7 separate regions of the Homo sapiens genome follow, and all the other regions are linked to region 5. The links are contacts of gene promoters, found by promoter capture Hi-C in blood cells and fetal thymus (Javierre and others, 2016). All regions are on one chromosome and are shown on one strand. The core of a region is centred on a gene start or on the middle of the fragment in contact, and the rest is flanking DNA. Distances in the headings are between cores, read along the strand shown. Region 1 holds the start of ARL1 (ARF like GTPase 1). Region 2 overlaps CCDC38 (coiled-coil domain containing 38). Region 3 overlaps SNRPF-DT (SNRPF divergent transcript). Region 4 overlaps CCDC38 (coiled-coil domain containing 38). Region 5 holds the start of TMPO (thymopoietin). Region 6 overlaps USP44 (ubiquitin specific peptidase 44). Region 7 holds the start of UTP20 (UTP20 small subunit processome component).

Region 1 (3,768 bases), core at 1,203-3,702, 2.9 Mb before region 5:
GCAGCAAACTAATCTTGTTTAAGAGGAGGTATTATAGAATCATAAGCACAGAGGTCCAATAATTAGACCACACAGTGCTTACAAAGGATAGCCTTAGAAAGGTTCAGGTGTTTAGGTAGAGCCCTTCTCCCCTTCTCAAACCATTAACAAAAATAAAAATAAACAAAACAAAACTTTTCCTTGCAGGAAAATTTCCGTGAACCTGTGGTTTTGGGGGCAAGGATGAGAGCAAGAGGCAAAAACTAGTTCAGAACCTAGACAACTAGTGGAGTCTGCAAACAAATCAAAACCAAGATAGGCATGGTTGGTGAGCATGTAAATTGGTATAGCCACTATGGAAGGCAGTATGGAGGCTCCTCAAAAAATTAAAAATAGAACTACAGTATAAACCATATAGTATATACCATATATATCATATATGCATATGTACCATATATACAATATATACGTATATACCATATATTCTGGGTATATATCCAAAGAAAATGAAATCAGTATGTCAAAGAGATATCTGCATCACCATGCTCATTGCAGCATTATTCATAATAGCCAAAGTATGGAATCACCTAAGAGTGAACTGATGGATAAAGAAAACGTGAAATGTAAAAATGTGGTATATGTATGTATATTTATATATATAATGAATACTATGCAGCCTTTAAAAAGAAGAAAATCCTGTCATTTGTGACAACATGGGTGAATTTATGCTAAGGGAAATAAGCTAGGCACAGAAACACAAATACTTCATGATCCCACTTATATGTAGAGTCAAAAAAAGTGGAACTCATAGAATGAGAGCAGAATAATGGCGGGATCTTGGCTCACTGCAACCTCTGCCTCCCAGGCTCAAGTGATCCTCCCATCTCAGCCTCTCAAGTAGCTGGGACTACAAGTGCCACTGTGCCTGGCTAATTTTTTTATTTTTTTGTAGAGATGGGGTCTCACTATGTTGCCTAGGCTGGACTCCAACTCCTGGGCTCAAGGGATCTGCCCGCCTCGGCCTCCCAAAGAGCTGGGATTACAGGCCTGAGCCACGACACCTGGCCGACCTTAAATATTCTTAGCACAAAATAAACATATACACACAAGCACACACGACTATGTGAGGTGATGGGTATGTTATCATTTCACAACATATACAACTATGAAAACATCACATGGTACACTGTAAATATATACAATTTTTATTTAAAGCTAGAAAAATTCTTTTAAAATAAACTAAAAAGGCAGTCCATAAGCTTCTGTTGAATGGATGAAAATCTCTACCATAAATAAAAACATAATATGCAAAGGTATTAATAAGATTTGGAAGAAAACCTAAGAGAGTATTAACAGTAGTGACTACTGGGGATCACCGAGATACAGGGTATTAGGGATGGAAGGTTTACTTTTCTCTTTTTTTTTTTGAGACGGAGTGTCGCTCTGTCGCCCAGGCTGGAGTGCAGTGGCACGATCTCGACTCACTGCAACTTCTGCCTCCTGAGTTCAAGTGATTCTCCTGCCTCAGCCTCCTGAGTAGCTGGGACTACAGGCGCCCGCCACCACGCCTGGTGAATTTTCTGTATTTTTAGTAGAGACGGGGTTTCACCGTGTTAGCCACGATGGTCTCGATCTCCTGACCTCGTGATCCGCCCGCCTCGGCCTCCCAAAGTGCTGGGATTACAGGCGTGAGCCACCGCGCCCGGCCGGAAGGTTCACTTTTCAATGGATCTTTGGGAAGTTTCAAAACATACATGCTCAACCTTTAAAAATTTCTCTAGGGGAAATCCCTTCTCCACATCCTATAGGTGTGCTTCCTTCTTCCTCTCCACACACTTCACTATCAAAACCTACATTACTTCCAACAGTCGACCCTCGAGGGAATAAGTCCCTGGTCCCCACGATCGGGACCAGCCAGTCCACACTGCCGACCCCTGAAAGGCGGTCTCAGCTGCTCGGTCAGCGAGAAAAAAAGCCGGCGAGGTCCTCGTCCTGCAGGCCACAGCGAAGACAAAAACCTCTGGTTACTGGCCTCAGGTGCAAGGCTGCTCCGCATTGGCAGCGCGGTACCATTCCTATTATTATTACGTAGTCTTGTTTCTTTCTGGGAGAAAGCACCTAGGGAGAGTTGGGCTGGCCCCGCAGGGCGCTCCGGGACACGCGTCCTCTGCAACGCCGCAGCCTGCGCCAGCGTTCGACCGGGACGACTCATCGAGGCCCGACTCGCATTTTCAGTTGTCAGATTCGCCACTTTTTGGTGTCAGAATTTAAAACAAAAATTCCAATTTCTCTATTTCAGAAGCTCTTTCTGTCCAGAAAAACACAAGCAGGAGAGACTTCAGGTTTTTGAATTATTCGTCTCTTCTGGCCTCCACGGTATCTACATCCAGTGAGCGGGGACCGTGAGTCGAAAGCGACGACGCGGATGCTCAGGCCACCGTTCCCGGCGCGCAGTCGCAGCTGACCCTCGCTCCCGCCCCCGCCTGGAGTCCGACGTGGAAGTTGCTGGCTGACTGGGCTTGCGAGGAAACCGCCTCGGAGCTGCAGCCGAAGGCCAAGGAATCACTGAAGATCGGCGAGGGAGGACAGGGGGTTCATCATGGGTGAGGGGTTCGAGAAGGGCACCTGGGCGCGCTCGAGGGAGCCGCGGCCGAGGGCTGGGGTGCAGAGGAGGAGAGGGGCCGGCCAGGATACCCTAGAGTAGCCAGCTCCTCAGGGGGCGGGTCGCGGAGGACTTGACTCACTTTGGATCTTCATCTGTAGGGGTGGATCCGGCCTCTCGCGTTCTCCTCCGTCCTCTCTCGGTTCCCCTTGATTCCTGCGGGGTCCAGGGACCCGGACAGCTTGGGGACGTCCGCAGAGCCTGGGTTCGAGTTCTTTACCCTTATCATGAAGTTTTCCCTCATCCCCAGCTCCACTTGCTGGGCAGAGTTGTTCTTGCGGAGGCTGGCAACGCGTCAGTCGCAGGTTCGCCGAGGTTTCTTGGTGAAAGATGAGCTGCGGCCCCAGAGTGGAAGCTTAATCATTCTCTTTACCAGGGGCGCTGGGACGGCGTCAGTTTGAAAAACCTGAGAGCAGGTGTTGCTTATGTTGTTTTATGGCCAGTTTGGCATTTGTCTGCTAATCTGCTGTAGCGTTTCATGTAATAATACGGGTATTTCTAGTCGGCAAATGAAACTTTATTCTTGGTTCTTGGCCCGCTGATTGAGGGAACTGCATTCTCACAAGCATCAGGTAACACCCTCGCCCCGCTAGAACCCAAGTGAGGGTGCACATTCTTTAACTCGTTTCTCACCCTCCAAATGAAGGTGCAGATTCTTTGGCTTGGTTAAATCCCTCCACAGTTTTCTGGGGAGCATACTTCTTGCTCCCAAGCATCACAGGCGCTGTCCTGTCTTCCATAACCGCCTTCAGTTTTGTTCCGCCTCTCTTCTACCTGTAAATGGTAGAAAGGACTTTGTCAAGTCACACCTATTCTGTTGAACTTTCCCAAGGTTCTCTAGCCCATGGTGTTGTTCATTTTTCAACTCGCAGCTCTTAGTTATGCCATGTCTTTGCCAAATAACAGTGTGGCATCACTTCTGATGTTAACTATTTTTTTTTGTATTAATGTAACTTGTTTTTAATCTTCTCTAATGGCTCTGGATGGGAAAAGGACTGTGCTTTTTATCCTACACAATACTTGGTGTACAGGAAGCTTTCTGGGAATATTTTGTGATGCATTGGATAGAGCTTTATTATTTTTAAAAGTGGGTTTTTTGTCAAAAATAGTTATTGTTTTCAGCTTTT
Region 2 (4,002 bases), core at 286-2,785, 2.6 Mb after region 5:
ACCTAACAATCCCACAAGGTAGATACTATTTGCATCATTCCTCTTGAAAGATGGGGAAATTGAAGTGTGAGGATTAAGGGACATAGAGAGAGTCTATGTTCTTAATCATTTAGCTTATGCGACCTCTAAAATGGATGGCTGGCAGTTATACACCACCATTTTACATTCCTGATATTTCTGAGCTTTTGATCTTTTTCATCTATTGGAAGTTGGATGTGAACGTGTATTTAAGATGTGAACTTTCAGGCATTTGCTATGCAATCCAATAACATTTTCCCTCTCTTTTGGTACAGAGCCTTTGTTTAGCCATCATGCTATTTTTATTTCGCACAACAAAGACATCCACTGACTTCAACATTTTTTCTGATTGGAAAGGGGACTTTATAATCCCTTCCTAACAATAACTGGTTCTGTTCCTCTCCCTCCCTTTTGTTCACCAACCTTTCATTCATCAATACAGGAATTCATGCATATGGAAGTATAGAAGTATAACAACATCTGGAGACTGCTGATTGCATTTACATGTTATATGAACTATATAATAGAGACAGAATAAGAGCAGATATCTGCTCTTAGCAATTGGTTTAAAGGAACAGAACTTCCAGTTTTTCTGTGAGTGAAAAAGTCCTTGAACCCATGGATAAAGATGCTCATTGCAAAAAGACTTTAAGGATAAAGGGAATGAGAGTGGGAAGGAGAGTGAATTTAGATAGATAGAAGGACCAAAGGAGTGAAAATGTGACAAGAAAGAGGTGATCAGAATCCTAAGAGTGGAGATGAGTACAGAGTGTAAAATTGAGAAAATCTACAAATCTTTAGTATTAGCCATCCAAATTCCAAATACTCATCAACCACAGGTTGTCACCAATTTTTCACCGATCTTTCTTTTCCCCCGTGAGAATGAATTTAATGCCTGTGAAAAAATGTTCAGTCATTTGAAAAAGTATAATGTCAATGTTATAGTTTTTATTCATTTTTTTCTCTTTTATAAGCTTTGACATAATTTTTTAAATATTTGTTTTTATAACCACTGGAACTAAAATCAGATGCTAATTAGTAAATATTAGCACATAATAGTTCCCACTTACTGAGCTGGTCTGTAAGCCAGGCACCCCACTTGGTTAAATCCATTGCCCACTGAATCCTCAAGAAAGCCTTAAGAGGTGTGTCCACTTTATGAAACAGGAAGCAGAGGCTCAGAGATGCTGAGTAATTAAGATGTAGGCTCCATGAAGACAATAGTTTTTGTTCTTTTTTGTCTTTTTAAAAATTGCCCTGTCCCCCACACGTAGAACAGTGCCTGACACATAGTAGGTACTCAATAAATGTTTTTTGAATGATACATGAACTTGCTCACACATAAGTAAATACCAAACCAAGATTCAAAAATCAGGCTTGTCCAAAGTCTGTGTTCTTAATCATCTGCTGCTCTGCTTCCGGGATATTTAGCTCTTATATATGGCTCTTTGAGATTCCTGAGGCACATATTTAAATGAGTAGCCCAAAATAGAATGTGTTGTCCATTGTTTCTGCTGCGGGCACATTTTTAAATATAAACTCCTGGGTGTCCTTTATCCCCAAAATGAATATATCTTTATTATTTTTCTCATTGTAACAGTTACACCAGCTCACTGAGAAATTTGAATGATACTCAAAGTATAGAAATCAGAACAAGGATTAGGGTAAGGCCAGTGAAGCTCTAGCTTCATGCATAAAATTTAAGGGGAAAGCAAAAACTCAGTAATCAAAATAAGCAATATTTTAATTCACTATTTTAAATATATAAATTAATGTAAAAAATTCATGATAAATGAAATAACAGAATTTTAAATAGAGACAAGTTCTGTGGGCCAGGATTTGGGTGAGTAGAGTGAGGCACTGGCTCTCAGGGTCACACAAGTACAGGGTCAGAGACTGTCCGTATTTACAATTTTGATATTTTGTTCATTATAGAATTTCCTGCATTTATTTGGAATTTTATAAAAATATATTGCATTAACATTTAATTTATCATAATAACTGAAAGTTGATTTTTTTGTTTTGTTTTTGTTTGTTTATTTTGGCAATCCTTAAGCTTTGCAGCTAAGATTGAGTGCCTCAATCACCTAACCCTAATCCCAAACCTGGTAAAAATGAGAGACTGCACCAAATCACATGTAATCAAGATTCATGTTTGATGAATGGCATTTCAAACACCTCTCAGATTTTTGCATGCATTTTTTAATCCACACTATCCCTACTCTTTTGAAATGTTTTGTTTTTTAACCAATACCATGGAGAGAGGTAAATAGTGACTACAGCATCATTTTAAGGGCCAACTGGAATTTATTTTATGGATATACCATAGTTATTTGGTCAACTCTGTATTTATGAAATGACATTGAACAAACATTATTGCACATGCTTTTTTGGCTGCTTGTCTGATTATTTTCTTGACATAAGATACCAGAATTGAAATTGCTGGGTCAAAGAGTATGTGTGTGCTCACTGCTTTTAAAAGCCATAAGGACTGTTAAGGAGTCATTGGCAGTTGAATTTAGCCCTTTTATATGATGTTCATAGAATTTTTAAAAAACGTATTTTTTTTTCTTTCAACAGGGCCAGGCAAGAAAATGTCCTCAAATTTATTGCCAACACTGAATTCTGGAGGTAAAAAGAAATCAATCAATATATTCTTGTTTGGGCCTGGCAGTGTTAGGCTCCATAACAGATTGTGAGCATAAGAAAAGGAGAATGTTACACCATAAATATAAAATGTAATGAGTTTATAAACTACCTGCAGAGAAGATTCTGTTCTACTTTTTAATTCAAAAAAAAAATCTTCAAATCAGAGGGTGCATTAAATTGTCATATTTAGCCAGATTGCCCCAGTCTCTCATGACAGAAAACAAGTAACTCAATTATTTGTCATAGTCAAGGACATACCTAACTAAACTTTATGAAAATCTGCCCTCTTCTTTCCTTTCCCACCCTTTCTCATCTTATCCTTCTGCCTATTTTTTATTTTTATTTATTTTATTTTATTTAATTAATTACTTTTTTTGAGATGGAATTTCGTTCTTGTTGCCCAAGCTGGAGTGCATTGGCGCAATCTTGGTTCACTGCAAACTCCGCCTCCTGGGTTCAAGTGATTCTCCTTCCTCAGCCTCCCAAGTAGCTGGGATTAGAGGCATGCACCACCACGCCCAGCTAATTTTGTGTTTTTAGTAGAGACAAGGTTTCACCATGTTGGCCAGGCTGGTCTCAAACTCCTGACCTCAGGTGATCCACCCACCTCGGCCTCCCAAAGACCTGGGATTACAGGCATGAGCTATCATGCCCAGCCTCCTTCTGCTTATTTATGAGCATACAAGGAATTAGTATTTATTGGTATATAAGGAATTACAATTTTCTCTTACAAATCTGACAAAAATTTAACATTTGGATAACACTAAGAGTTTGTAATAGGTAACAGGCACTCAGGCTCTCTATAGGCATTCTCTTTAAAGGAACATTTGACACTATTTGTATTTACAATGTAAAAGTTTGGCTGCAAGAGACAGAAAATATAAAACAACTGTGGCTTAAACATGATAGACGTTTGTTCTCTCTCAGGTTAAGTCTGGATACAAGCATTCCATATGGAGGTTCACATCAGGGGCCCAACTCCTTCTGGCCTGTTCCTGGGCTATGTTCTTGGTCCAAGACGGCTGCTTCCACACCAGTGATTACATCCATATTCCTGCCAGCCAGGAGAAAAGGGGAAGGGGGGACATGCCCTGAAGTTGCATTCACCACTTCCGCTGACCTGCCTCCAAGGGAGGCTGAGAAACATAGCCTCTACTCTGAGTGTTCATTTAGGGTTCTATTCCTATAGAAGAAGGAAGAATGGATATTGGGGGTTCACTAGTAGTATCTGCTCCACTACCATTTTTTTTAAAAAAGCATTTAAAAGGAGCCATGTTTGGAATTTATTCTACAGATATGTATGCACAAGTGATTAAAGATGTGTGTACAGGAATA
Region 3 (4,048 bases), core at 413-2,912, 2.7 Mb after region 5:
ATGGAGTGAGGAGAACATCCACATAAGAGAGCAGCCAGTGTGGGGTGTCAGAGCCTGAGCAGGAGGAGGAAGGTATCTACATAGGAGGGCAGGCAAACATGGGAAGTTGGTGCCTGAGGAGGTGAGGATGGTGATCACGCATGGCGAGGGGCAGCCCAGCACCAGCCATTGGAGCCCAAGTAGGATGAAGCATCCCCAGAGGGTGGCCTGACAGGGAGTGTTGGAGCCTGAGTGGGGTTAAGAGGGTGTCCACACTGCGGGGAAGAGGGTGGCCTGCTGTGGAGTGTCAGAGCCTAAAGGAAGCAAGGAGGATGTCCATGCAGAATGACCTGGCACACGGTGTCAGAACCTGAATGGAATGAAGAAGAAATGCAGGGGAGGGGACAATGGCAGGAAGGGAAATTTGTTACAAGGGCACTAATCAAAGGAATCAACCTATAATAATGAGCATACTTAATGCTCAGGTTTTAGTTTCTAGAAACTGCTTCCCACTAAAGGAATCAGGATCCCTTCGAACATTGGCTATTTTCAGTCTTCTTCACTATAGTAACTGGTAGACACCATCTTATTACAATCCAGTGATCAAACAACTATCGTTAGCAACTGGAAAATCAAAATCAGGTGCCACATGATAAGATGCAAAGAAAAGATGCATTCTGTGATATTCTTACCAAAGCCACATAACCTGAATCTAGTAATCAGGAAATATCAGACAAACCACATTGAGGAACAAAGTGGCCTGCAATGTTCAAGAGTGTCAAGGCCACAGAAAGATCTCCATGATAAATTGCTGAGAAAGACAAGGCACCGAATAATTTGCAAAATATGCTGCCTCTGTATAAAAAGAGAAAGAAGGGGATAACAAGCTATCCATTTCTGTGTATGTGCATAAGTATACTGGAGGGCTCCTAAGATACTAAGAACACGGGTTGCCTATGGGTGTAGTGGGAACTACACTGAGGGCAGACAATGATGAGATGTTTCACTATGCATTTTTTAAAAACTTTTAATTATGAAATTCACATATTAACCATTTCAAAGTATACAATTGAGTGGCATATAGTACATTCACAATGTTATTGCAACCACCACCTCTATATAATTCCAAAACATTTTTGCAAGTTCATTTATTTGTTTGTTTGTTTTGGGATGGAGTCTCGCCCTGTCACCCAGTTTGGAGTGCAGTGGTGCAGCCTCGGCTCACTGCTAACCTCCGTCTCCTGGGTTCAAGCGATTCTCCTGGTTCAGCCTCCTGAGTAGCTGGGATTATAGGCACATGCCACTACACCCAGCTAATTTTTGTATTTTTAGTACAGACGGGGTTTCACCATGTTGGCCAGGCTGGTCTTGAACTCCCGACCCCAAGTGATCTGCCTGCCTCGGCCTCCCAGAGTGCTGGGATTTCAGGCATGAGCCACTGTGCCCAGCCCATTTTCACAACTTTAAAAGAAAACTCTGTAGTCATTAAGCAGTTCCTCCCTATCTTCCTTCTCTCCTAGCCCATGGCAACCCTCAGTCTGCTTTCTATCTCTATAAATTTACCTGTTTTGGATATTTCATATAAATAGAAACAACATGTGACCTTTTATATCTGGCTTTCACTAAGTGTAATGTCTCTGAGCTTCACCCACATTGTAGCTTGTTGTAGTAGTAGTACTTCATTCCTTTTAATGTATGAGTATGATTCCACTGTATGTATATACCACATTTTGTTTATCCCTGCACCTGTTAATGGACATTTGGGTTGTTTCCACCTTTTGGCTACTGTGAATTTTGCTGCTATGAGCATTTGTGTACAAGTATTTGTTTGAATACCTGTTTTCAATTTCTTTGGACATATACCTAGGGGTGTGGAATTGCTGGGTCATATCATAATTTTACACAGAACTTTTTTTGAGGAACTGCCAAACTTTTCCACAGCAGCTGCGCCATTTTATATTCCCACCGGCAATGTATGAAGGTTCCAATTTCTCCACGTTCTCACCAACAATTTGTTATTTTCCGTTTTTGTTGTTGTTTTAATTATAGCCATGCTAGTGGCTATAAAGCAGTATCTCATTGTGGTTTTGATTTGCATTTTCCTAATGACTAATGATGCTGAGAATCTTTTCATTTGCTCATTGGCCATTTGTATATCTTCTTTGGAGAAATATCTGTTCAAATCCTACATACCCTTTTAATGTTCTATTTTTGGAACTTTTGAATGTATTGCCTACTAAAATAAAAGAAAAAGTCATTTAATTGTCTTGGATCTTATTTTCTTCCTTTATACACTGTAGGGATTGGGCTAGATCAGAGTTTTCAACCTTGATATTATTGACATTTTGGACCAAATAATTCTTTTTTCTTTATTTTTCTTTTTTTCTTTTTTTGAGACCCCGTTTTTTTGAGACGGGGTCTCTCTCTCACCTAGGCTGAAATGCAATGGCTCAATCTTGGCTCACTGCAACCTCCACCTCCCGGGCTCTAGTGATCCCCCCATCTCTGCCTCCCAAGTAGCTGGAACCACAGGTGTGCACCACCATGCCCAGCTAATTGTTTGTATTTTTGGTAGAGACAGGTTTTCGCCATGTTGTCCAGGCTGGTCTTGAACTCCTGAGCTCAAGCAATCTGCCTGCCTCGGCTTCCCAAAGTGCTGGGATTACAGGAGTGACCCACCGCAACCAGCCACAAATAATTCTTATTTTGTGACTTGTCCTGTGCATAATAGGTTGCTTAGCAGCATCCTTGGCCTCTACCCATTAAATGCCAGTAGTCCCTCCCCCACCCAGGTTTGACAACCAAAAATGTCTCCAGGCATTGCCAAATGTCCCCTGGGGAGCACAGTTGCCCCTGGTTGAGGACCACTGGAGATCAATGGCCCCACAGGCCCCTGAACCTGGATCAGTTTGCAGGTAGTGTTGTGGCTTTGCAAACTATTTTCAAAAACAAAGAAAAATAACCAACAAATTGTACATTTATTTTAATAAAGACACTATAGACTAAGACCTCATGTGTCTTTGCTTTTGCTTGGAATGAAGTCACCTTAAAATACGAATACTGGTGGATCATCATGGGTCAGAAGCTCTGACTGGCATTTATTTATGTATCTGATTATTAAAATGGGAAACAAATTTTAAATAAGTAATGTCTTTGAGTTTTGTAAATCATAGATTCAATCTGTGGGGGCGAGTAGATAATAAAAGAAGTCTGTGGATGAAATGGCTGGAAACCACTCAAGTAGATGATCAGTGTTCAATACTGACTTTAAACACTTTTCTGTTTTTTGCCATGGTTCCAGCGGGTGGCAGTGGTGAATTTGGAATAAGAGTTCTGTTTGCCACATAAGCACTTCAAAGTTAATCAGTACAAATAGGACTTCACTGTTCTCAAAACACTAAAGGAAACAAAACAAAACCTCATGGAATTTTCCCCATAGTATCCTGTGCCATACAGTCTCCCCCCACCTCCTTCACCCCTCAAATGTCTCCATTGAATCCAATTTTAAAAAATAAAGCTTATTCTACTTCCTCATCTATTACCCTGTTGCCAGAGGTATCTGACCTCCTTTCCTTCAAAACAAACCGAAGACCTGGACATTTTAGTTGGATATGGGTAACCTTTGTTGGTTACCCATGACTAGCAGCCTAAAACAAACTCCTTCATCTCTTTCCCTTCTGTCCCATGAACCGCAAAGCTGGCCCTTGCACCGCCGGCCATGCTTTTTCTCACAACTCCACGTACTTACACAGGACGTTCTTACCACCTAGAAATCCCTCCCCATTTGCTTTGCCTGAAAAATGCCTCCTCATCTAATCTCCATGGCCCCACTCAAATGGGCACTTCATATCTGAAGCTTTCTCTGACTTCCCTAGGTAACTAATTGTTCTGTCACATGGGCTCTACCCCACCTGTTTTAGCACTAACTACACTCTCTTTTAGAGAAAAAGGTATTTTATTCATTAACCCTTTGTTGCTATTACTAGTCATTTACTAGCACATAATTAGTTCCCTGGCACATAATGGCAAATTTCTGGAATGAATAAATTAATGAATAACTGACTTGAGA
Region 4 (4,173 bases), core at 15-2,514, 2.6 Mb after region 5:
CACATTTTAGTAAAAGAAGCCTCTTCTCTCCTCTTTTTAGACCTAGGTTCATTAAAATCAGATAATTTTTTTCTTGTTTTTTGGAATAGATTAAAAGCATATTGTTCAAAGTTCAAAAGATACAAGAGTATTCAGTATAAAGTCAGTCTTCCTCAGTTCCCCTTCCTGAAGGCAACCACTGTTAACAGGTTCATTTGCATCCCTCTGGAAATATACATACACAAATATGTATTTATGTACATATTCTTTTTCTTACTAATGATAACTAGGAACTTGGCTTCTTTCACTCAGTAATGTTTTGGAGATGTGAACCCAGAGAATCGCATGTAACTGTGGGGACTGTGTATAATCCCCACATTGTAAAGACAATGAGATTGACAGTTGGAGTTAAGATGATTTGCCCAGAGTCACTTTGACTTAGCAGCACAATCAGGACCAGAAGCCAAAGTTCTTTATTTTGCAAGACTACCTGTCCAATCAGAAGTTTGGGATTAGGTAGTCAGGTACATGTGGTCCATCAATTCTACACAGGGTAAGGAGTTTGTTTCTATATGACACTCTTTCCCTCCTCTGGGATAGCATCTGAAATATGTTCCAGAAAGACAATTTCATGGTTATCTGCAAAGCTATTGCGGATGCTGATTCTTACCACAGTGATAGCTAACACATAACGAATGCTTACTGTGTGCCTTACAACTAACCTCAAGAGGTAAGAACTTGAAAACAATTCTGAAGTATGGGAATTAATATGTGCCATGACAAAAAAACGATTACTTCAAAATATTTTATTGAAATAAATACTTCATCTTAAAAAAGGTATTTATCTAGTTCAATTCTTTCCATGAAGACTTTCCTCACCTGTCCTCTCCTCCCAAGAATTAACCATTCATCACCCTTCCACATGGACTACTTAGCAAACCCACCAAATTGAAATTATTATTTTTTAATATATTCACCTTTCCTTCTAGACCATGAGTTTTATGACGTTTGTATTCCTAATACCTGGCACATCATGGATACTTGATGTGTAGTGAATTAACAGACTAAAAATGAGCATAAAAACTAAAACTGGAAAAAATTGGGGGAAAAAATGGTTATCTGATAAATCAACAACACACAAAGACCTCTGATAGAAGCTGACCCAGTTAGGACACTTCATCATTGCTAATTTTCTCAGACACTATTAATAACAAATGTTACCAAAGATCTTTGACAGTTAAAAATTCCGATATTGCAGAAGGAATTCAAAAATTCTAGTCCCCCAAGGATATTTTTGTTGTTACAATGATGGGGAAAAGTGCTATTGTTATTCAGGTTCTCTCAGGCCTGCAATGCAGGGGACAATCTCACATAAGAATTGTCCTACAATGTCAATAGTGCCTTTTGAACACAGTGGCAATGTCCCATCAAATCTCATAGAATTATGGTAGTTTCCCCACTTATACATTTAATGTATACAAATTCAGCTATAAAAGCAAAACAAAATAAAAAGTGGAGGAGGGAATCCCAAAAGTAAAGAGAAAAATAAGTAGTAATATATTTGAGTATATATGACCCAGAGAGAATGAATAGGTATGAACTCGGGGTTTCCCAAAGCCTCTTCTGTTGGGAACACCTCCAGAAGCCAACCAGTATTCAAGATGGTACATGGTTTTCTGGACTTTTTATTTAACAAGATTTCTAAATGCTAGTCAGGTGCTCAACAGGAGAAAGCCATCTCTTCCAACCATGGACGAAAAACTGGCTATGGCACTTACTGAGAAATAAAATGGTGGCCTTCAACATGGTGCTTTTCTAGGCTGACCACATTTGAACCATATACTATTTGATGACTTTACCTAAGTTTTCCCACTTCCCAATAAAACCTAACTGCTGTTCCTTCTGCATAGTTATTGGTGTCCAGTTTGCTACTCAACTTTGCCTAGCATGTTAGACATCCGTTAGGTTATAAGTCCCTTTTAACTGTGATTAGTTAATGTTACAAACCATATTATTCCTTGTAAAAATCAAGTTAATATTGGTATTTCACAAATTTCAATAGAAAATGGCTATGCTCAAAAAATATTAAGTATTTTGTTTTTCTTTTGTTTCAGTTGGGAAGACGACTTGTCTTTCATTCAAAACCTCCATCTGGTAACAAACAGCAGCTACCTTTAGTCAATGAAACAAAAACAAAATCACAAGAGGAAGAATATTTTTTTACTTGAATAAAAGCAGTAAGACATTTTATTACCAGAATGTCTTAGGTGTATTTTGTAAATTTTAAGTCTTTAAGTATTCATATCATAAGTATTATTCCATATAGCTAAACACTTTCTTCTATACTTTGAGTTGTCCCACTTGGGGATACACAAAGATAGTTTACTGATAAAACTATGGTAAATGAACACTGAAGTGTAATAATGGCCATTCTCTTACAACATGAGAATGTAAATGATGTATTTTCTCAACCCATCTGTAGGGAAGTTCATAGCATACTGTTATTACTATGGACTATACATTTTAACAATGTACAACCCTAAAATACCTGAAGGGTTTTGAGGGGCTTAAAACTCAACCTCGAGGTTATGTCTCAGAACATAATGGGGAGACTGGTTTTTATTTGACATTACATTTTGTTCAGAGAACTTTTTTCTCTTCAGTGAACAAACCGTATGCCTTCAGCCTGAATGTCAGTTCCCAATTTCTGTTGTGCCCTGTCTGTACAATCATTTTAATTTTTAGAAGATGCTTCAATTTTAGCTGCAATATGTGCATTTAGCTTATATTGACACAGAATTAACATGTAATTTATTGACTACTAAGTAAAATAAGACAGTATATTATTAATACCAAGAAAATGTTTAATTTTATACGTTAAAAGTAGCTCAAAAATAACTTTAAAAGAAAAAGTTGCATTTAAAAGGTCTCAGCTAATAGATAATTTTACAAGAAAAGGTCTGAAATTCACCTTCATAAAAATATCTAAAGCATATAAATAATTATCCTTTATGGGAAAAAAAAGAATATTGGGCTTACAAAAGAAAAGCAACTTAAATGAAATTCAGTGGCTTTTAAAGCATTAGTTCAGTGAGTAATCTTTCCCAATTGGTTCATCATTTCAGCTTTGCTTGTAAATATCTGAATACAAATAGTTCACAAGTCAAGTTGAAAAACAAACAAATCTTTATTGTCTAGAAATATATATAAAAAAAATCCCCCACAAAAGATGCTATTCTCTCATTTCCCCATCTTCTTCCTCTTCTTCCACACCTCTGATATAAAGGACATTATTACACCTGTAAATAGAAAAAGTCGATTTTGTTGTTCCAACCAGAAACCATGTATGATATGAATTACTATATTTTTATTATGAAAATACTGAATACTATATTTATAATATTCTTGTCTTTAAAAAAATTTTTTAAATATATTCATTTTAAAAAAAAGTTTCACATAGATTTGTTGAAAAGCACATGGCACTTATTTTCCACCATATGGTTGTTATAAAATGACATCTTTATGATTTTCCAAAGGAAATAATTACCAGAATTTGGAGCTTTGAAGCTAGTACAGAAAATCAATATAACAAAACAGCCAGACCCAACTAAAATTCAAAACTAAGTTCCCGCAACAAAGGCCACTGCAAAAGGTTGCCACTGCAAAAGATTATAGCTAAGAGCTAGAAAATTAAACATCAACACTAGAAAAATCTTTTGGCCAGTTCCAAAACATTTGAAAACTTACCTTTGACAAGTTTAACAATTTCAAAGACTTCTGAAGTCTAACTGTAAAGTATTATAATAGTGATTTTTTAAAAAAAAGTAATTCCAAAATTGAGGCACTAATATATTTAGAACAGGTATTCCTAATGCTCACCAGTAACTCCTTACATATACTACTGCTGTTTGTTACCTTATTAAAACTTCACCCAGATGTCCAGACAAAGCTCCATCTATGTATTCTTCTGTATTTGCAAGCTTTCAATAAAAAGAAATATATTAGTATAATCACACAGGAGGAAAATATTACAATACAGCTAATATTGGTGAGAGAACTCATTAACTGAGACCTTTCTATACCAACAACTCAAATTTATCTATAATTAATAAACAGAAGATGAGCTTTCTATTACTATTGTAGTACTTTTGGTTTCATATAAACCTTCAACGAAATTAATATTCAAAGCTTGTT
Region 5 (3,615 bases), core at 925-3,424:
GAAGCTTTCCGCAAAACAAGATGTTTAAACAATAAGGTGTGATTGGTCTTTTATTTATTGTACAAATATTTGGCACTACTATGTGCCAGACACCGGACTGAAGACGTTTGGTAAAACTTTCAACTTCTCTGAAGCCGAGAATAAGATTTTCAATTAAATTTACATGTGTCTATTACATTTGTCTTTCATTTCTGCCTGAGTAGCCGGGAAAACACATTAGACAGGTTCCTTAAAAACTAAAGTAAAATTTGAAGGAAGGAATAATTTCGGTTTAAACTAGTGATCATTCCCAACAACTCCAAACACCACATTCACTGTCTCTTACAAGGCATTTTATGTTACACCAATTACTAGTTTTAGCTTCATCCTATTACGATTTGAAGCCTGGTAACTCGGCAGGCATAAGCAAACCCACAAAAAGCATATTAAAATCCACAGGTAAAAAAGCAAACTATTCTGAAACAAAACATGCTTTGCTGGAGCCGATTTGAGATTTAACCAGGATCAGACATTCCAAATTGCAATACTGATGCACCAGAATGTCATGAAATAAATTTTTCCTGAATCCTAAGTCTTTCGTTTCCTCAAGCAAAATTTACCAATATGTGGGGAAAACGCAATCCAAACTGCAATTTTCAAATATTTGTTTGCAGGGCCGGGCCCGGTGGCTCACGCCTGTTATCCCAGCACTTTGTGAGGCCGAGGCGGGAGGACCACCTGAGGTCAGGAGTTCGAGACCAGCCTGACCAACTTGGAGAAACCCCGTCTCTACTAAAAAATACACAAATCAGCCGGGCGTGGCGGCGCATGCCTGTAATCCCAGCTACTCGGGAGGCTGAGGCAGGAGAATCGCTTGAACCCGGGAGGTGGAGGTTGCGGTGAGCCGAGATCTCGCCATTGCACTCCAGCCTGGGCAACAAGTGCGACACTCCATCTAAAAAAATAAATAAATAAAAACTAAAAAATTATAATAGGCGCCTAAAAATATAGTTTAAAATGCTCCTTTTAATTCGGCATGAACCTGTTCCGCCAAAAGATGGCCTGTTGCTGGGAAAAATTAAAACAAACTAGAAAACATAAACGGTTCAAAAAGCCCTCCACACGCAAAAGTATAAAAAGGCGGGAATTTCCTCATTTCAAATTTTGGTTAGAAATTAGAGTGTCATCAGTTGCCCTCCAGGGAGCGCTCTGAGACTCTGCTGCGAGTCATTTCAGTTAATAAAGCGGGAAAACGCTCGAACTTAACCTATAGCATTTTGGGGCCACCCCTCCAGAGCTTTCGAAAGGGCACGGAAGTCCCCGTCTAAACGCCCGCTGCAGGCGGCTGGTGGTCCAGGGAAGCGGCGTCGACTGCGTGCAAAACAACCGCCGCCAACGCAACTCCACACCTCCCAGACCCACACGTCAAAGAACGCGAACCCCGCGGCCCCAACTTCTGGCCTCTCCGCTCCGGCGCCTGCAGCCCCGCGGGGAAGGGGCGACGCGAGGGGGCGCAGGGACAGCCCCGCACCTGGGAGGCCCGAGGGGGCGCCCGGGAGGGAGGGGCTGCAAACGGCGGCGAGCGCGCGCGGCAACCGCCAAACGCCCGCCTTTGTAGCCCCGGCCCCGCGTCCTTACCCTGCCGACGGCTGCTCGGCTCCGGCCCGCGGCGGCGGCCCCAGAGCCGAGGACCGGGGTGGGCTCGCGCTCTTCGTCACTGGAGAAGTCCGGGGGCCCCTTGCTGTTGGTGCCGGCGGGGAGCGGCGGCCGGTTGCGAGCCGTGAGGTGCTGCAGGTAGAGCTGGACGTACACGTCTTTGCGCTGCTCCCCGGCCGGCAGCGTCACATTGTTGGCGACCAACTCACTCTTCAACTTGTCTTTTGTCAGGACCGAGGGGTCTTCCAGGAACTCCGGCATCTCGGGGATCTGCGAAGCCCCCTCCCCACAGCCTTTGCCGCCGCCGCTCACGCCGGCGCGCTTGCTCCTGGCCGGGGACCGCGCTGCCGCCTCCGAGCCTCACGGCTCCTGCCCGGGAAGAGCGCTGCGGAGCGGAACAAAAACTCGCGGACACAAAGCCAAGCCAGACCCGGACACAAAAGACCCCAGAGCCGAACTACGAACCAACTGCGGCCAAGCTGGAAGCTCGCACCAACCCCAGCCCACACACTACAGGCAGGAGGCGAGCAGCCTGCTTCGCCCACGCCCCAAGAACGCGCGCCGCCATTGGCGGGCGACGGGAGGAAGCGCGGCGGTGATTGGCGAGACGGCTCGCGCGGGTTCCATTAGCCGCCGCGCTGAGCGAGAGGAGGTAGAAACGCAGTTTAAAAGGCGCTGGGGCGGGAGCCGAGGCTCCCGGCCCGCTTCTGTTTTCGTTTTCTCCACCCTTCCCCTTAGACGCCGATAAGGGACAGGTCGTACTGCTTTTGTGCGCCGTTTCCTCTCCCTCCCCCAGCTTGAGAAGCAGCTTTCGTCTCTGGGGTCGATCGCCTACGAACGCGCCGAATTCCACGCCAGTGTGAGGACCCTTGGCTGGGCCTTTCTTCCTCCCGGGACACTGAAGCTCCAAGAGTAGCCGCAGCCTTGCCTTCCCCAAACGCTAGCCCTGAAGGGGAAGAAAAGAAGCGAGGCTTGTCTGCAGGCACTCATATTCCTTGATTTGATTTACTTTGGGAGGGGGAGGGCGGGGAGTTACCCCTCTCCTCGCGAACGCTTCTTTTGTTCCAGAAACCCAGGGGAAGCCAGACCTCTACAATCGGGCACTTAAATTACCCTTGAATTTGTGACAAAAGTGTACTATACCATTCACTTCTTAGTGTCATAGTTGGGGCATGTCTAAATTGTTTAATTTGAACAGTGCGTTCAGACGCAAGACAAATTCGCGCTTGCATTTTTGTTGAAACCGTCTCTGGCTTTGGATCCCACCACCCGCAAGAATCCTAAACCTAACGTTTGATAACAAAACGAAGGAGAACCCTTGGGAACCCCCTCAATGGTCAATTTAAAATAACAGATGGTGCATAATCCTAAAGGAAGACTAGTGACCTATAATTAGGCCTAGAACCCTAATCAAACCCGTATTACCGATCCAAATTAAAACCTGGTAGAATCTAATACATTGACTGCAATTAAAATGTTTGCCTGGAAATTAGTATCACTGATGACAAATATTTGTATTTCTGATGAATATGTATGTTTAAAGATGCTTTCTTTCTAGAAAGGAAAGGAGACCTTGGATGTAGGGTGTGTTAATCATTTCCCCAGAATCTGAGCTCCAAACTATGTTTTAGAAACTGGTTAAATTTTTTTTAAATGTTTGCCTGCTTTCTACATTGCTAGGTTAGAATACATTTAAAACAAACGCCTTCACTAAAAATGTTTCCTATGATTTAAGCGACTTACTTTTATTCAAATTGCGATATTATTTCTTTTAGTGATAATTATTTTCCTAGAGGTAACTAATTCCTTTATAAAAATCTCAGTATTCACATACATTTAAGCAATGGTATTAAGCTCAATAATGCAAATTAAAAATCAGGTTTTAATTAGCAAGTTGTTAGGTAGGTTTTTATGATCCCTTGTAAAAGTTGCTTGGTTTTTTGTCCTCACAGCTTCCCTGGACACATAGGCAAATGTTTT
Region 6 (3,790 bases), core at 1-2,500, 3.0 Mb after region 5:
AGTTTGCCACGCGTTTCTGCCAAACAATTCGACGTTGTGTAAATCGCAGAAATTCCAGGAAGGACTAACGACGTCCGTGGATGATTCTGCGGCTCACAGGCACACAGGACACGCTGGGTTTACCCTCCCGTGTCCCGACGGCACTACAGGTGCGAAGCCCGCCCGGGGAGGCAGTGCTTGTTGTTCGCGCAGACCCACTTGCGGCGCCGGGGACCGTCCGTGGCCCCGACCCCCCCACGAGGCGCGGAAGGCGGCCACCGGCAGGTTCTCGGTGCCCGCGAAGAGCCGGCGCAGGGGTGGGGCTGTGGGAGGGGGCGGGGCCTGCTGCGCGTCACGGCTGTCGTAGCCGCCGCACCGGGTCGTCGCGGCCGCCGAACCGGGGGGCGGGGGGCCGGGGTGAGCGCTAAGATGGCCGCCCCGGCTCGGGCTGGTGAGTGTGCGCGAGGGCGCGCGGCCGCGGCGATTGGCGGAGTGAGGACCCCTGCGGGAGCGGACGTGCGACGGCAGCCCCCGGGGCCGGGAGGCACCTGGGGGCCTATTCTCGCCGCGCAGGGCGCTGGGGGGTCCTGAGAGAGGGAGAGCCTGGGGCTGCGGGCGCGCGGAAGGGAATGAGCCGAGGGGCGCGCGGCGGCGACGCGTCCGGCGAATTTTGAATTGCCCCCCTGGGAAGTTTCGGTGGGTTCTGCGGCGCTCCGACCCTGTCCCGGCGGCAGCCTCAGAGTGCCCGGAGATGCTGCGGCAAGGCGCAGCGGGCTGGAGGGGGCGAGCTGGGGGAGAACGGGCGCGGGCGAGGGCTTCGGGGACTGGAAGGGGCTTCGCGCTGATCCCGGCACGAGCGTCGTGGAGAGGTGGGCGCGGGGCTGGCACGGGCTGGGCGCTGTGTGGAGCACGCAACGCCCGGGTCCAGCCGCATCCCTCCACCCTCCCGGATTACCGCGAGGTGATGCTCGAAGCCCCGGGGCACTTCGGGAGGGCGGTTGTGGCACTCGGTTGAGGAGGAATGCGCTTCCCGGCGTCTTGCCCGCCTTCTCTCCATCGATCGGTCCCCGCGCTGCCGGCACCTGCTGCCGCTTAAAGCTTGAAAATCAGCTTCCTAAAGCCATTCCCGATGGCCTTCGATGGGAAAGAATGCCATATGGCTGAATTCATTATGGGGGATAAGAAATATGTCAGTGTGCGCGGAGGGGAACCTGTTAATACGTTCAAATTTAAGAGTAGGTAAGACACCATACCCCGCCCCCATGAAAAAAGAAAGTGAACTATATAGTAACTGTTCCAAATGCAAGGTTGAGCTGTTGTTAAATTCTACTGGTAGCTCGCAGTTTTTATACTGGAAGCAAAACCATTTAGGAACCCTTGGGAGATTCACTTTCTCCTCAGACCAGTCCTCAAGTCCCCCACTCCCGCCACCTTTTAAGCTTTAATTGTTGTATCTGGGCAAGTAACGGGGATTGTGAAATTTGCATGGAAATAAGACCTTCAGGTCCTGCACTTGAATTCCTTATCTGTTAAGTAGCTGCCTGTGGGGGTGAAAGTAGGGGTGGTGACTTTTGGGCCTGGAATTCCATTTTGAGTTGTGTTCAAAACGAGCATTTGGTGTAAACAAGGAAAAAGAATGGGCTGTTCACTGTGGTGAAATGCGGAAAGCCAAATAGAAGTTAAGCACATGCTTAGAGAATATTTCATAATCTCAATGAGATTCAATATTCAGTTGAATCTTGAAAGAGATGAAAATTTGTATTCTTGGAACTCTAATCGTTTTGTCCTTAATTTAGCATCTCAGGATATTTTAAAGAGCGTTTAAATGTTTTGGCACATTCAAGTTTTCTCTCCCCATTCTATCTTTTTTCATAGTAGCCATTAGTTTTGCATATGTTCGATGTCAGATTTTTCAGTCCAGTATTTATCACTGTGGGCTATCCAAATTCAAATGTAGAGATATTCTAATATTGAACAGTTAGTCCAGTGCATACAGTTTAGAAAGCTGAAATATTTTGACTACTTTGTGTATCAGTCCTGTTTTTCTTCCCAAATGTTAATTGTTTGAGATTTTTTAGCTTAAAAATTTTTAAGTGATAAATGAACCTGCATTTAGTATAATATACAATGGTACACTTTTTGGAATATTTAAAATGGAAAATCTGTTGAAGATTTGGGTTAGATATTTGAAATAAATTTTCTACCCAGTTGTCTTTCTCCCTTTTCTACAGATTTATCTTTTCTGTACTACAAAGAAAGAAAGCGTCATATCCACTCTACCAAACTTCTCCTCTACACACTTGAATCTATTACAGCGTTTTGGTGCCTAAGAGAATTTTCTGCTCATTGGGTTGTTTGAGGGCAGAGTCTGTGTTTTATATGTGTATCTCTAGTACCCGACTAACTGCTTAACGTGGAGGAAAAACCCCCGTGTAAATTTGTTGAATTGGGGTTTTGAATGGTAGAGGATACAGAAATTTGGCTTCTTGGTAGCCAAAAACAAAACAAAAAAACAAACACGTGCTTTGAAGTCTCTGTCCTTCCTGCAGTGTTAGGCAGAACAAACGTGGGTGCCAGATTCTAATGGAGTTGTCTGGTCCAGGGAGATTAGCGAGAGGCTGGGGCACGGGCTCAGGAGTCTAATCAAGATAGGAAATAAATCGTGTGCCCGAATAATTCTCTGAATTCAGTAACGGGGGACAGTTTTGCTATTAGGCCCAGCCTAAATAGGTGACAAATAACTGAAATACAGGAGGATTCTACAAATAATGGCTTTCTGGCTAAAAGGTGATTGTAAAAGGTGTAACATTCACAGCAATTTTAGACGCCATAAAAAACTTTATTAGGAAGAATTCATTTTTAATGGAGTTTTACACGTCATAGGAAAAAGGTAATTTGTAGTCTAACGATATACTTGCTAGATCAGATCATAGATGTGCTGGAATGACAGAGTCTAGGCATTTTACACACAGAGTATTTGAATTCAATTTTTCAGACCCTTGGTAGGATGCTCAGTATTATTCTGAATGTTTCTCCCATTGTTACGAAGTTAGCTGCGGTAGATTGATGTGTAAATTTGTTGATGTGACACTGATGATAAATGTTTTGGAACAAAATTACTTGTTAAGTAGGGATGGGGGTGAGAAATTCAAATAACCCGGAGGCAGAAACTGCTTTCAGGAGCTTTATCTTACAACGTGTTCAACTAGATTCAATCTCTGCTTCAGGAGAGGCATGTTAGAGACATGAGGAAGGCCCAAGGGAAAAGGGTGTCCTTTATTGTTTAATGAGGAGTTCCAAGCAAGATCAGGGTAATTATAGATTCTAGATCTCTAAAGGAAGAAAGAATAACCAGGGCCTTTCTAGGGATAAAGGAAAGGAAATACATCATGATTGACATGGAGAGGTGCCAAAGCACATAATGGACATAATAGCATACCTAAGAGGGAGTAGGGGAGGGTTTGAGAGCCCATTGTGTTCATTCGCTCAGTAATTTGTTCATTCAAAAATATTGAACCCCTTTCTGTGAACCAAGCACTGTGCTTGACCCTTGGCGTTTCACAAACATTTCTTAAGAGGACAGAATACTATGGTGGTTCCGTGAAGTAAATGGAAAATGGAAAATTGCTTATACGAGTGGGTAAGATTTACCCTAATTACTGCAAACTATGGATAAAGTTGTTTTCATTCTTATCCAAATGCATTGTGGTGGTTAGTAATTCCTAAGGCCTACTTCCTACCGAAATTACCATTTCCTCCTATCTTTTATTATGGAAAATAACAAATCATACAACTTTTAATAGCCTGTAGA
Region 7 (3,689 bases), core at 942-3,441, 2.8 Mb before region 5:
TCGTCTAGATCACCGTTTTTTTGACACCCCTAAAGAATGTAGGTTAGGTTCCCTTTACTATGAGTTCTCAAAGCACAATGTGCTCACCTAGACGACATCATTTAACACATTGAATTTACACAGTGGAGATAATGCATTCAAAGACCCAGCGAGTGGAGTCTGATTATAGTAAAGAAGAATATTACGAACTGAGATTGGATCGCCAAGGTATAGGCATGTTACGTACGACCTTAAAATGCTAGGAGGAATAACGACATGATGCAGAAAAAGACTTCTGCATAAAAGGATGACAAGGCCGGGCGTGGTGGCTCACACCTGTAATCCCAGCACTTTCGGAGGCCAAGGCGAGCAGATCACGAGGTCAGGAGATTGAGACCATCCTGGCCAACATGTCAAAACCCCGTCTCTACTAAAAATGCAAAAATTAGCTGGGTGTGGTGGCACGTACCTGTAATCCCAGCTACTCGGGAGGCTGAGGCAGGAGAATCGCTTAAACCTGGGAGGTGGAGATTGCAGTGAGCCAAGATCACGCCACTGCACTCCAACCTGGAGACGGAGCGAGACTCCATCTCAAAAAAATGAATAAATAAATAAAAGTAAAATAAAGGGATGACAGAGTCAGAGTATGGTTAAAACTGGAAAATATTATGTAGTCTAGCCCCTTTATTTTTATAAAGGAGAAAATTAAGCCCCGGGAAAAGGGCTTCCTCAAAATCACTTTAAAGTTATAGCTTCAGGAATATGGATCTGCAGCAGTGCTTGGAATGCATAAGGGAAAGGGAGAGGCTAGAATCACAAAGACAGCTGAAAGTCAAGTCAATTGTCTAATAGAGCTTCACCCAACAGAACTTTCTGCAAAGATGAAAATGTTCCAATTCTATATTTATTCAATATGTTAGCAACTAGCCACATTTGGGCACCCAAATTTTTAATTTACTTTAAATCCAATTTGTCATATGTGGCTACTGTATGAAACAGCACAGGTCTAAAGCATTTCATGTCCAAAAAGGAATACCTTGAAAAACAATTCACTTCTACTAACAGAAGAAACTAAAACACCATGAACACTTGAAGATTGACTAGTATCACATTCTCTTACCTCCTCATAGCTTGCAGTTCTATCAATCCGGTGAATAATATCAATATTAACATTCCCCAGTCGTTCAGCAAATGTAAGAAACTGGAAGGGAAAGTATATTTAAGATACATAATTAATTAAAATTTATCAGATCTTTAATATCTATTTGAATGCTGCATGTAGGCATCTCTAATCACAAAGGATAAGTGGAAAAATAAACTGAAAAACATACGGCCGTAAACAAATTTACTGCATCACTGTTCAAAGATAATGAATACTTCTATGTTTGCATAATTTCTCTCAGCTATGTCATTTCAAATAAAATTTCCATTGCCAGACTGGTGAGCCTAGGTGGATGCTGGCAATTAGTCTCGCTAGATCTATTAGGTTTCATACCCTCCCATAAGCATGGGGACCTAGCAAAGTCGCTGCAATAAAAGTGTTTTTAAACATATACAGACCTATGATTGTATCCTAAGGAAGACCTGGAAACAATCTATCAAGGGGCAAACAGAGAAAGCGCTGTATATTTGCCCTTAGCTGGGAATCACTCACCGCCAGCCGACTCGCCCAATTCGGTCTTTAAAGATAAAAGAGCAGGGGAGAATTGGTCCTAAGCAATCTCCTGGAATAGTGAATTTAATTCTGGACTACAGGAAATTCCCAGGACTGGCCAGACCCCATAAAACATGGGTGAAACTTGCTGTCCACACTTCTTTCCTCCTCCAACCCATGTTTACTACATCCAGTGTCTCCCTCTTTCGCCGGAGCCTCCAGGAAAGTGACACACTCGGCCCAGAAGTCTGAGGCCCCTGGAGTCTCGCTCAGAGCCTGTCTCACGACTGAGGCAGCGGAGACCCGCGGCTCCCTGCCTAAGCTCCCGCGCTCACCCGGTAGGTGTTCTCGGTCTTGTGGGAAACGGGCTTTGTCTTCATGGCTGCAGAGGGCCAGTGGCCCGCGACGGCCTCGGGAGTGTCGAAGGGATGCAACCGACAGTAAGGAGGGGAAAGCGGCTCACAGGCTATACTCTCCGATTCCCAGATGCCCAGACTTTCTCACGTGCGGCTTGAGCCCCTGGGCGCCGCCATGTTGGAGACAAGGAGGAGCCTGAGTGGGTCACGTGGACGGAAAAAAGAACGGCGCAGGCGCACCCTTTGGTGGGGTGGGGCCTACAGGAGGCGGGGCTGCGCACATAAGGGCGGGCGTTTGGGTGAGGTGTTCTTTTCACTCCCTTCGGTAAAGGTTTAGAAGACAAATGTATTTTCATTATAAAATAAAACATACCTGTAATCGTTATCAACTAACATTACTGTCCCTCACTACGTACCTGCATCGTGCAAAGATCCTTTCATCCATAATTTCACAGTAAAGCTTATTAGGGATGTTAATACAAAGGAGGTACTGCGTCTATCTATATATCTATATATAGATATATACTTTTTTTTTTTTTTTTTTGAGACGGAGTCTCACTCTGTCTCCCAGGCTGGAGGGCAGTGGCGCGATCTCGGCTCACTACAATCTCCGCCTCCCGGGTTCAAGCAGTTCTCCTGCCTCAGCGTCCAAAGTAGCTGGGACTACAGGCACCCGCCGCCACGCCCGGCTAATTCTTTTGTATTTTAGTAGAGACGGGGTTTCACCTTGTTGCCCAGGCTGGTCGCGAACTCCTGAGCTCAGGCAATCCGCCCGCCTCGGTTTTCCAAAGTGCTGGGATTACAGGTGTGAGCCACCGCGCCTGGCCGGTACTGTGTATATTTTTAAGCCAATTTGACACAAGAGGAAACCAAGGTTGTGCAGCTGGTAACTGGCAGTCTTCACTCAGACTCTAAATTTTGGTATTCTTAACCACTACGCTGTAAATAAAATTGAAAAATAGAGAAGGAGTTTTAAGAAAAATCTTTTAATTTCATGCACAACCGCTGTTAATGTTTGGTGTTTTTCCCATCACTTTAATGTCTACACATAGCATGTTGTTAAATTGTACAGTTATATATACATATATGTACAATTTTAAAAAATAATTTAAAAATATAATTATTTACCCCATTTTACATTCATTCATTCATTCAGCAACTATTTCTTGAGAGTCCTCTGTGGACCAGGTACTGTTCTGGGAGCCAAACGAGAAAGGCAATAATAGTATTAATTAATTATTTGAAAATATTCACAGCCTTCAATTCCTGGGCTAAAGTGAGCCTCCCACCTCAGCCTCCCAAGTAGCTAGGGCTACAGGCATGCACCACCACACCCAGCTCTTTTATTATTATTATTATTATTATTATTATTATTATTATTATTTGTAGAGATGGGATCTTGCTATATTGCCCAGGCTGGTATCAAACTTCTGGACTCAAGCAGTCCTCTTGGCTTGGCCTCCCAAAGTGCTGGGATTACAGGGGTGAGCCACCATGCCCAGACTGGAAATACTTGGTCTGAGATGCTTACATTTTAGTCAAGGAGTGATGTTAAGTAGACAATTGGATATATTGTTGTACAGAGCTCACTGTAGCAGTCTGGGCTGCAGACGTGACTTAAATACACCTAAATACCTCAAGTGTGAGGCATTTGCGACTGGGAAAGAGAGCCAGTAAGGTAGAAACAGACTAGTTATGGC

The links. The method cuts DNA at HindIII sites, captures the fragments that hold promoters and counts their contacts. A CHiCAGO score of 5 or more calls a contact.
Region 1: the fragment with the promoter of ARL1 here is called in contact with the fragment with the promoter of TMPO in region 5 in 1 of 17 cell types (activated CD4 T cells); the score reaches 9.6 in activated CD4 T cells.
Region 2: a contact is called between a fragment that was not itself captured here and the fragment with the promoter of TMPO in region 5, in 4 of 17 cell types (total CD8 T cells, total CD4 T cells, activated CD4 T cells and 1 more). The highest score is 12.6, in total CD8 T cells.
Region 3: a contact is called between a fragment that was not itself captured here and the fragment with the promoter of TMPO in region 5, in 2 of 17 cell types (naive CD4 T cells and non-activated CD4 T cells). The highest score is 6.6, in naive CD4 T cells.
Region 4: a fragment that was not itself captured here is called in contact with the fragment with the promoter of TMPO in region 5 in 1 of 17 cell types (activated CD4 T cells); the score reaches 7.4 in activated CD4 T cells.
Region 6: a fragment that was not itself captured here is called in contact with the fragment with the promoter of TMPO in region 5 in 2 of 17 cell types (activated CD4 T cells and non-activated CD4 T cells); the score reaches 7.2 in activated CD4 T cells.
Region 7: the fragment with the promoter of UTP20 here is called in contact with the fragment with the promoter of TMPO in region 5 in 5 of 17 cell types (total B cells, fetal thymus, non-activated CD4 T cells and 2 more); the score reaches 8.4 in total B cells.

The regions. Positions count from the first base shown.
Region 1 is chr12:101,406,456-101,410,223 of GRCh38, reverse strand. It overlaps ARL1 (ARF like GTPase 1), which reads left to right and starts at 2,452. Exons shown (of 6, transcript NM_001177.6): 1 at 2,452-2,582. The coding sequence starts at 2,579. RefSeq lists enhancers at 2,790-2,839, 2,920-2,969. The HindIII fragment of the contact is 1,758 bases long and covers 1,241-2,998 here.
Region 2 is chr12:95,935,120-95,939,121 of GRCh38, reverse strand. It overlaps CCDC38 (coiled-coil domain containing 38), which reads left to right. Exons shown (of 16, transcript NM_182496.3): 2 at 2,599-2,649. The coding sequence starts at 2,613. Among named protein-coding and RNA genes, the nearest start is that of CCDC38, 5.5 kb to the left of the region's middle. The HindIII fragment of the contact is 1,082 bases long and covers 995-2,076 here.
Region 3 is chr12:95,848,466-95,852,513 of GRCh38, reverse strand. The region is part of intron 1 of SNRPF-DT (SNRPF divergent transcript); the gene reads left to right. Among named protein-coding and RNA genes, the nearest start is that of SNRPF-DT, 8.3 kb to the left of the region's middle. RefSeq lists cis regulatory regions at 1,428, 2,351 and enhancers at 1,356-1,500, 2,279-2,423. The HindIII fragment of the contact is 3,673 bases long and covers 1-3,498 here.
Region 4 is chr12:95,865,110-95,869,282 of GRCh38, reverse strand. CCDC38 (coiled-coil domain containing 38) reads left to right here. Exons shown (of 16, transcript NM_182496.3): 16 at 2,094-2,235. The coding sequence ends at 2,207. SNRPF (small nuclear ribonucleoprotein polypeptide F) reads right to left here. Exons shown (of 4, transcript NM_003095.5): 3 at 3,895-3,959; 4 at 3,143-3,278. The coding sequence ends at 3,212. Among named protein-coding and RNA genes, the nearest start is that of SNRPF, 8.2 kb to the right of the region's middle. The HindIII fragment of the contact is 5,394 bases long and covers 1-3,961 here.
Region 5 is chr12:98,514,149-98,517,763 of GRCh38, reverse strand. TMPO (thymopoietin) reads right to left here and starts at 2,174. Exons shown (of 9, transcript NM_001032283.3): 1 at 1,618-2,174. The coding sequence starts at 1,896. It overlaps TMPO-AS1 (TMPO antisense RNA 1), which reads left to right and starts at 1,538. Exons shown (of 2, transcript NR_027157.1): 1 at 1,538-1,773; 2 at 1,867-3,615. RefSeq lists a silencer at 1,415-1,684 and enhancers at 2,025-2,214, 2,475-2,554. The HindIII fragment of the contact is 4,246 bases long and covers 7-3,615 here.
Region 6 is chr12:95,545,411-95,549,200 of GRCh38, reverse strand. All of the region lies in intron 1 of USP44 (ubiquitin specific peptidase 44), which reads left to right. Among named protein-coding and RNA genes, the nearest start is that of USP44, 4.2 kb to the left of the region's middle. The HindIII fragment of the contact is 341 bases long and covers 1,080-1,420 here.
Region 7 is chr12:101,278,607-101,282,295 of GRCh38, reverse strand. UTP20 (UTP20 small subunit processome component) reads right to left here and starts at 2,191. Exons shown (of 62, transcript NM_014503.3): 1 at 1,969-2,191; 2 at 1,100-1,180. The coding sequence starts at 2,013. RefSeq lists enhancers at 2,118-2,167, 1,901-2,492. The HindIII fragment of the contact is 7,469 bases long and covers 1-2,451 here.